2 separate regions of the Homo sapiens genome follow, and region 1 is linked to region 2. Evidence: promoter capture Hi-C in 16 types of primary human blood cells and fetal thymus (Javierre and others, 2016). All regions are on one chromosome and are shown on one strand. Each heading gives the region's core, a stretch centred on a gene start or on the middle of the fragment in contact. The rest is flanking DNA. Distances are from core to core; before and after follow the strand shown. Region 1 overlaps SMIM7 (small integral membrane protein 7). Region 2 holds the start of CALR3 (calreticulin 3).

What was found. Contacts are between HindIII fragments. The CHiCAGO score rates a contact against its expected background, and 5 or more counts as called.
Region 1: a contact is called between a fragment that was not itself captured here and the fragment with the promoter of CALR3 in region 2, in 5 of 17 cell types (M1 macrophages, M2 macrophages, erythroblasts and 2 more). The highest score is 6.1, in M1 macrophages.

The regions. Positions count from the first base shown.
Region 1 is chr19:16,643,134-16,647,380 of GRCh38, forward strand. SMIM7 (small integral membrane protein 7) reads right to left here. Exons shown (of 5, transcript NM_024104.4): 5 at 3,015-4,128. The coding sequence ends at 4,113. Among named protein-coding and RNA genes, the nearest start is that of SMIM7, 15 kb to the right of the region's middle. The HindIII fragment of the contact is 1,300 bases long and covers 1,976-3,275 here.
Region 2 is chr19:16,494,471-16,498,548 of GRCh38, forward strand. CALR3 (calreticulin 3) reads right to left here and starts at 1,697. Exons shown (of 9, transcript NM_145046.5): 1 at 1,569-1,697; 2 at 1,281-1,382. The coding sequence starts at 1,659. It overlaps C19orf44 (chromosome 19 open reading frame 44), which reads left to right and starts at 1,924. Exons shown (of 9, transcript NM_032207.4): 1 at 1,924-1,995. RefSeq lists enhancers at 961-1,461, 1,462-1,962, 1,597-2,026. The HindIII fragment of the contact is 8,057 bases long and covers 1-4,078 here.

The DNA.
Region 1 (4,247 bases), core at 1,376-3,875, 150 kb after region 2:
AAAGTTATTTTAGAAAACAACACATTTGAGGATATGGAAGTATGGTTACAGTATCAGGTGAGAAAACCATGCTGGAAGATACTAAGATAACACTGCCAAAAGAAAATGTAAGCACCACACCTAGATGATTATGCACAGAAGAAAGGTTGGAAGAATATGTACCTAGGGTGATGGTCTCCGGAGAATGTGACTATGGGTGATTTATTTTTCCTCTTCTAGCAAGTATGCATTTGATAAGTTTCTTCAATGAATATGCATTAGTAGTTTAAAAAAAATTTTTCTTTTTTGAGACAGGGGTCTCACTGTGTCACTCAGGCTGAAGTGCACCACTCGGCTCACTGTAACCTCCGCCTCCCGAGTTCAAGTGATTCCTCTACCTCAGTCTCCTGAGTAGCTGGGACTACAGGCATGTGCCACTATGCCCAGCTAATATATGTATGTTTAGTAGAGATAGGGTTTCACCATATTGGCCAGGCTGGTATTGAACTCCTGGCCTCAAGTGATCTACCCACCTCAGCCTCCTAAAGTGCTGGGATTACAGGCATGAGCCACCGTACCAGGCCTAAAAAATTTTTTCAAGCAAAGTAAAACAAACAAAAGCCACTTAAAGCCACACCAATGGTATTTAAGGATATTATGGACCCCTCCATGGTTATCTGCCCAAGGAAGCTAATGCCACAATAGAAGCCAATGAAGATCACAACACTGGTGCCAGGGGCAGCCCTGATCACAGTGGACAAAATATAATCCAAGTCCAGCAACAAGGTGGCTAAGGACCTATTTACTGACACTGCACCGTAAGTAAAAATGAGAACTGTAACACCTCCTAGCAACAAAGCAAGTGTAAAGAAAATGATGCTGAAATGAACACAGCAGAACTCATCCTTCCTTATCCACTCTCAAAACATACATACAGGAATATGGAAAATGCTGCATGGGGATGGTGAAGACAGGAAAAGGTTTACCAGGCTGGAAATTGTTTGCGTTTTTTTTTTTTTTTTTTTTTTTTGAGATGTTTTGCTCGTCGCCTAGGCTGGAGTGCAATGGCGCGATCTCGGCTCGCTGCAACCTCCGCCTCCCTGGTTCAAGTGATTATCCTGCCTCAGCCTCCTGAGTAGCTGGGATTACAGGCGCACGCCACCACACCTGGCTAATTTTTGTATTTTTTAGTAGAGACGGGGTTTTGTCATGTTGGCCAGGTTGGTCTCGAACTCCTGACCACAGGTGACCTGCCCACTTTGGCCTCCCAAAATGCTGGGATTGCAGGGTGTGAGCCTCTCACTGCACTCAGTCTGTTTGTAACTTTTTTTTTTTTTTCCGAGACAGAAGATCTTGCTCTGTCACCCAGGCTGGAGTGCACTGGCACGATCTCAGCTCACTGCAACCTCCACCTCCTGGGTTTTTAAGCAATTCTCTGCCTCAGCCTCCTGAGTAGCTGGGATTACAGGGGGCATGCCACCACACCCAGCTAATTTTTGCATTTTTAGTAGAGACGGGGTTTCACCATCTTGGCCAGGCTGTTCTTGAACTCCTGACCTCGTGATCCACCTGCCTCGGCCTCCCAAAGTGCTGGGAGCCACCGCGCTGGCCTCTGTTTGCAATTCGTAAAAATGCTGTCATCAGCCTTTAATGGTGTGTGTGCAGACTGCACAAAGAAAAGTGGATGAGAAGACAGAAAACACACACGGTGATGATACCCACAGCAACAGGTGCTCTCAGGCACTCAGCCGCATTCGAGTTCATTGAAACTTACAACAACCTTAGGCACACACTACTTGCAGGCCGATTTTAGAGATGTGGAAACTGAGGCTTGGAGAGGAGAAAGCAATTAGCCAAGGTCCCTCTCAGAATGAGCTGAGATGGGATTTGTACTCACACCTAACTGACCCAGAACATTAGTGCTTAAACACTGTGAGACACTAGGCACCCAAACTTCAAACTCTGATAACCTCTGGTGCCAGTAAAGTTCTTGAAAAGCTTCCTTAAGAGACACAACCATGAGATTCCATTTTTAAAATGTACAGCAGCCACCAACCAGCATCTGAAAAAGCCACGCTGCTATTATTAACAATGAGACAACAGTTCTCTGGAGAAAAAGAGGACTATTGAAACAAAACCTCAATGACAGGATTCTCTTCTGAGAGCACGATTCATCCCCATAATGGACAAATGCCTCGCCTCATTGAGACCTCCGCGCCAGTCTGAATAAGGCAGGAAGGTTTCTTCACACCATTCATCTGGCCTGTGAGGGACCCAGCCAAGATCTTGGCGTGCCTGTTCTGACAGCGACACCGGCCTCAGCAAAGCCAGACCCAGCAGCTCCGATCTCTGCTACTTACAGACCTTGGGGTGATGCTTGGCTGAGATTTGGCAAGGAAATGAATTGCAGAAGTGATCAAGGAGAATTCCACAACCTGAGAGGCAGCAAAAGTGGACTTGACCCTGGTCTAGCAAGAGCCCACCATTAGCAATGACTCTTTCAATACTTTCAGGAGCAGCTCCAGTCAAAATTCCACTTACTCAATTCTTTTTTTTTTTTTTTTTTTGAGACAGAATCTCATTGTCTCACCCAGGCTGAAGTGCAGTGGCTCAATCTCAGCTCACTGCAACCTCCGCCTCCCAGATTTAAGCAATTCTTGTGCCTCAGCCACCCGAGTAGCTGGGATTATAGGCGTGTGCCACCATATCTGGCTAATTTTTCTATTTTTAGTAGAGATGCGATTTCACCATGTTGGCCAGGCTAGTTTCGAACTCCTGACCTCAAGTGATCCGCCTACCTCGGCCTCCCAAAGTGCTGGGATTACAGGTATGAGCCACTGCGCGCAGCCCCACTTGCCCAATTCTTGACCATCATTTATTGAGCTAAATCCAAAAAGGAAACTCTACCACTGACTCTTTTCTTTCTCATGGCCTCCAAAATGAATCCTAGGTTTTTCCAGCAGGGTAAATTCAAAAGGACTCAGGTTGGAAATTGACTTCTTGGTTAAAAAAAAAAAAAAAGTATAAACAAAAGGTCCTTTTTAGAAATGAGGTTTATTTTCAAGGCTACTCAGTCCTAAAAGCCTGCATATTTACTTTTTTTCCTTCCTCCAGGTTTACCTCCAAGTCAGGATTTCAAAAACCACCAACATTCAGGCTCATTCTTATTGGTATAAACAAACAAACAAAAAAACCAGACAACAAAAAACTCAACAAGCAAATCACACAGTTGTGGGATTCAGCGCCAACCCCGGGCGTTTCATTTTGGCAACAAAACCAGGATTCCCTTTCAAAGAAGCTTCTGGAAAATGCTGTATTTCCTAGATGAAGGCCCCTGGTTTTTCAACCTCAAAATCACCTACTCAAAAAGCAGACTCAGAAACCCAAGGTTTTAGAACATGGTCCCAATGTACCACATCATAAAATCACTCTCATTCCTGCAACTGTACAATGAATGGCTCCCAAAGTCATTTTATTTAACAAAGGGGTCAAGGCAGAGGAAAGTTTCCCTTAATATCCCCACAACTGCTCCACATGTCTTCTGTGGAAACACTTCACCAGGAACTAGCTCAACACTCTTGCTAACAATTTAGTGTCTATACAGGAAGGCTGGTGTCTCTGTTACAGGTGGCCCGTTCCTTAAAGCCTTTAGGGTTAATCGCAGCTGCACTGAGTGGCCAAGCAGACCCTGTTGGGATGTGAAAGCAGTTTGTTAACAGGGCCCCTGGCCGGGCCCAGAGGCTGTCAGACTCAGCAAGTAACACTGAATGTCCAAAAATACGGCTGTGTTAAACTAACAAGCCAATCCTTCTGCTCAGATCTCTGGATAGAAATGATTTTTCTTTTATCTATGGGGAATGCAATTTCATCACAGCCCCTTACATAAACGCTCCTGAAACCCTTTCAGTAGACAGCATTTCAATTCAGAGACCAAAGTGAAACTATCTTTGAAAACAGGGACGTGGCTGGGAAACCATGCACACCTCGGCGAACACTTTTCCACCCACCACGAGCTTGGACTTTCTGGGAAGGTTGTCGGTTTTCTGGTCAAAAACATTCTTGAAGTCATCAGGAATGGAGGAATGGAGACTCGGCATCCCGGGAAAGTGAGTTCCTGGTTTCATCGCTGGGATTCAAGAGCCGAACAGCCTGGAGAAGTCAGAGGGCAGAAATGTCTGTGAGGATAGGAGGTGACTGTTCTAAAAATATTGTCAGCGATTATTTTACATGACTATTACCTATTACTTAGATGATTTTACATGATTGTC
Region 2 (4,078 bases), core at 447-2,946:
TCTGCCTCAGCCTCCCGAGTAGCTGGGACTACAGGCATGAGCCACCACACCCAGCTAATTTTTGTATTTTTAGTAGAGACAGGGTGTCACCGTATTGGCCAGACTGGTTTTGAACTCCTGACCTCATGATCCGCTCGCCTAAGGCCTCCCAAAGTGCTGGGATTACAGGCATGAGCCACCGCGCCTGGCCTATTTTTCTTTTTAATACGAAAATTAAAATGAGAAAAAGTACCCACTAACCTTTTCCTTCTGAGGGGCATGGCCCTTGATCCTCAAATGCACTTGACTAGTGTCTATTAAGAGGGGCAATTTTGGTAATGCCTACTAATAACACATTCATATAAATATAATCCAAAGAAGGTTAAATACCATTGCATATTTGACAGTGCTTCAAGTATGATTTTATTATACCAAATAAGCTGAATATGTCTCCTTGGACTTCAGGGGACCTAATACCAATAAAAGTAATAATAATGATAATAGGCCAAGCACCATGGCTCACGCCTATAATCCCAGCACTTTAGGAGGCCGAGGCAGGTGGATTACTTAAGGCCAGGAGTTTGAGTCCAGCCTGGGCAATGTGGTGAAACTCTGTCTCTAAAAAAATTAGCAGGGCATGGTGGCGCACGCTTGTAATCGCAGCTCCTCAGAAGCCTGAAGCAAGAGAATCACTTGAACCCGGGAGACGGAGGTTTGAGTGAGCCAAGATCGTGCCACTGCACTCTAGCCTAGGCGACAGAGCGAGACTCCTACTACCAAAAAAAAAAAAAAAAAAAAAAAGGAATCTTTGGCAATAAAGAAAGGAGAGAGGAGGCTGGATGTTGTGGCTCATGCCTGTAATCCCAGCACTTTGGGAGGCCAAGGTGGGTGGATCATGAGGTCAGGAGTTCGAGACCAGCCTGGCCAACGTGGACCCTGTCTCTACTAAAAGTACAAAAATTAGCCGGTCATGGTGGCGCGCGCCTGTAGTCTCAGCTACTCGGGAGGCTGAGGCAGGAGAATTGCTTGAACCCGGGAGGTGGAAGTTGCAGTGAGCCGAAATCGCGCCACTGCACTCCAGCCTGGGCAACAGAGCAAGGCTCCGTCTCAAAAAAAAAAAAAAAAAAAAAGGAGAGAAGAAACAAAAAAACAAGGAAAGGAGCCCCTTAAGTTCTACCTTTGCCTTAATGTCTTCATCTGTAAAACGGGAATAAAAGCGTTTTGGCTGTGCCACAACTACCTAGAGAGGTTGCTATGGAAATGTAACATTAGGCTCAATTTGGTCCTGATTCTACACTAACCTTTATCTTTCTCTTTATGACCATAAAACTTGCCCGACGAAAGTCTAAAATGCCCAAATCGGGAGTCATTGGTGGACTGCAACCATCGGTTTCTCCAATGCTCTGTGGGGAAGGGGAAATAACACCGGTTAGAGGTGATAATGGTTAATTTGGGCTAAGGGAAGGGTGAAGGGGACCCTCGAGGATTCGAGGGTTCGCTGCCGTGGACCCCGTGGCGACTCTGGCCAGCCTTAGGGGGCGGAGATGGGGGAGCTTACACCTCCGCCACCACGGGCGTGGCCCCTTCACCTCCGTCTAGAAATTCCTCTTGGAAATAGACGGTAGCCAGCGCCACTCGCAGCATGCATATGGCCCAGAGCTGGACCAAAGCCCGGGCCATGGGGGTGTGCACTGCGCTTCCGGTCGCCGCCACCCCTTAGCTCCCAGCTCTCTCTGCGGCTCTTCAGGCGCGTCCCGAAACTACAACTCCCGTCACAACTCGCGATTATGACCTGAGGGTCCCATTGGTCGCTGCGGCGCGGGGCACGTTGGGCCCGCCCCGGAACTACCGCTCCCATGACACCCCGCGATTGTGATTCGGGGCGCCATTGGTCTGCGGGGCGCGGTGCTTCCCGGGAGATGTAGTCTCTTCTGCTCTGGCTCTGTTGCCCAGGGCAACCGCTCCTTCAGGCGTGAATGTGGCGGCTGCCTCTGCGAATGGACGGCGTGGGAAGAGGTCGGCAGGGCTGGTGGGGAGGTGACCTAGCTGGGCGTCCGGGCTCGCGAGGGGGATACGGGGAAATGGGGCCTTCTCCGGGGCTGAGCTGGTTGGGCCGCTGCAGGATGGTCCCGCGCCTCAGTTTCCCTGTCTGGGGTCTATTGGAGCATGGTCCTGCGCGGGTCGCTTCATAGCTGGGGAGAAGAGCAGGATGGTCTCAGGGGCGCCAGGGTTTTCAAGTTTTGGTTTGTTGATTTGTAACAACTTTATTGAGCCTTCATTTACATACCATAGTGTTCGCCACTTTTAAGCTGACGACTCCGTTATTTTTAGTAAATCTACAAAGTTGTGAAGCCGTCGCCACCATCCAGCTCATCCAGCTTTAGAACTTTGCGTCAGGCCGGGCGCGGTGATTCACGCCTGGAATCCCAGCACTTTGGGAGGCAGAGGCGGGAGGATCACTTGAGGCCAGGAGATCCAGACCAGCCTGGGCAACCTGGCGAGACCCCATCTCTAAAAAAGATAAAAATAAAAAATTAGCCAGGTGTAGTGGCACGCGCCTGTAGTCCCAGCTACTCAGGATGTTGAGGCAGGAGGGAGGATTGCTTGTGTCCAGGAGGTCAAGGGCTGCTGTGAGCTGTGATCATGCCACTGCACTCCGGCTAATTTTTTGTATTTTTAGTAGAGATGGGGTTTCACCATGTTTGCCACGCTGGTCTCGAACTCCTGACCTCACGTAATCTGCCAGCCTTGGCCTCCCAAAGTGCTGGGATTATAGGCGTGAGTCACAGCACCGGCCCGATCTGCTTTCTGAGTTTATTGGTTTGCCTTTTCTTGACAGTTCTTACAAATGAAATGATAGGGTGTGTGGAGTTTAGTGTCTGGCTACTTTCTTTTTTCTTTCCTTTTTTTTTTTTTTTTGAGACAGATTCTCGCTCTGTTACTTAGGCTGAAGTGCAATGGTGCGATCTCGGCTCACTGCGAACTCCGCCTCCCAGGTTCAAGCAATTCTCCTGTCTCAGCGTCCTGAGTATTTGGGATTACAGGCGCATGACACCACGCCCCGCTAATTTTTGTATTGTTAGTAGAGACGGGGTTTTACCATGTGTGTCAGGCTGGTCTCGATCTCCTGACCTCGTGATCCGCCCGCCTTAGCCTCCCAAAGTGCTGGGATTACAGGCGTGAGCCACTGCGCCCGGCTTGGCTACTTTCCCTTAGCGTGATGTATTTGAGATTCCTGCGTGCTGTTATATTAGTATTTGTTTTTTAAATTGCTGAACTGTATTACACTGTATGGATGGACCATAGTTTGTAATCCATTCACTAATTAATGGATAGTTACATTGTTTTCCGTTTTAGTCTACTAGGAGTAATAAATATTATGGGGCCAGGTATGATGATGTGGGATTGTAATCTCAGCATTTTGGGAGGCTGAGGCTGCGGATCTCTAGAACCCCAGGAATCTGAGAACAGCCTGGGCAACACAGTGAGACCTTGTTTCTACAAAAAGTTAGCTAGGCATGGCAATGTGTGTCTGTAGTCCCAGCTACCCAGGAAGCTGAGGTGGGAGGATCGCGTGACCCCGGGAGGTCGAGGCTGTAGTGAGCCATGATAACACCACTGCACTCAGCCTGGGCAACAGAGTGAGAGCCTGTCTCAAAACAAAACAAAACTATTACGAACATTTGCATACATTTGCATTTCTCTTGGGCCACATGGGAGTGGAATCCCTGGATCACATGGTAACTCTATGTCTAACCTTTTGAGGAACCAACTGTTTTCCACATTGAGGACTACATAATTTTACAATTCCCCCAACAACATATGAGGGTTCCAATTTCTTTATTTTTTTTAGAGATAGGGTCTTGCCCTATCATCCGGGCTGGAGTCCAGTGGCACGATCATAGCTCACTGCAGCCTCAAACTCCTGGGCTCAAGCAATCCTCCCACCTCAGCCTCCCGAGTAACTGGGACTACAGGTGTGTGCCATCAGACCCAGCTAATTTTTTCATTTTTTGTAGAGATGGAGTCTCCCTATGTTGCCCAGGCTGGTCTCGAACTCATGGGTTCAAACAGTCCTCCCATCCTGGCCTCCCACAGT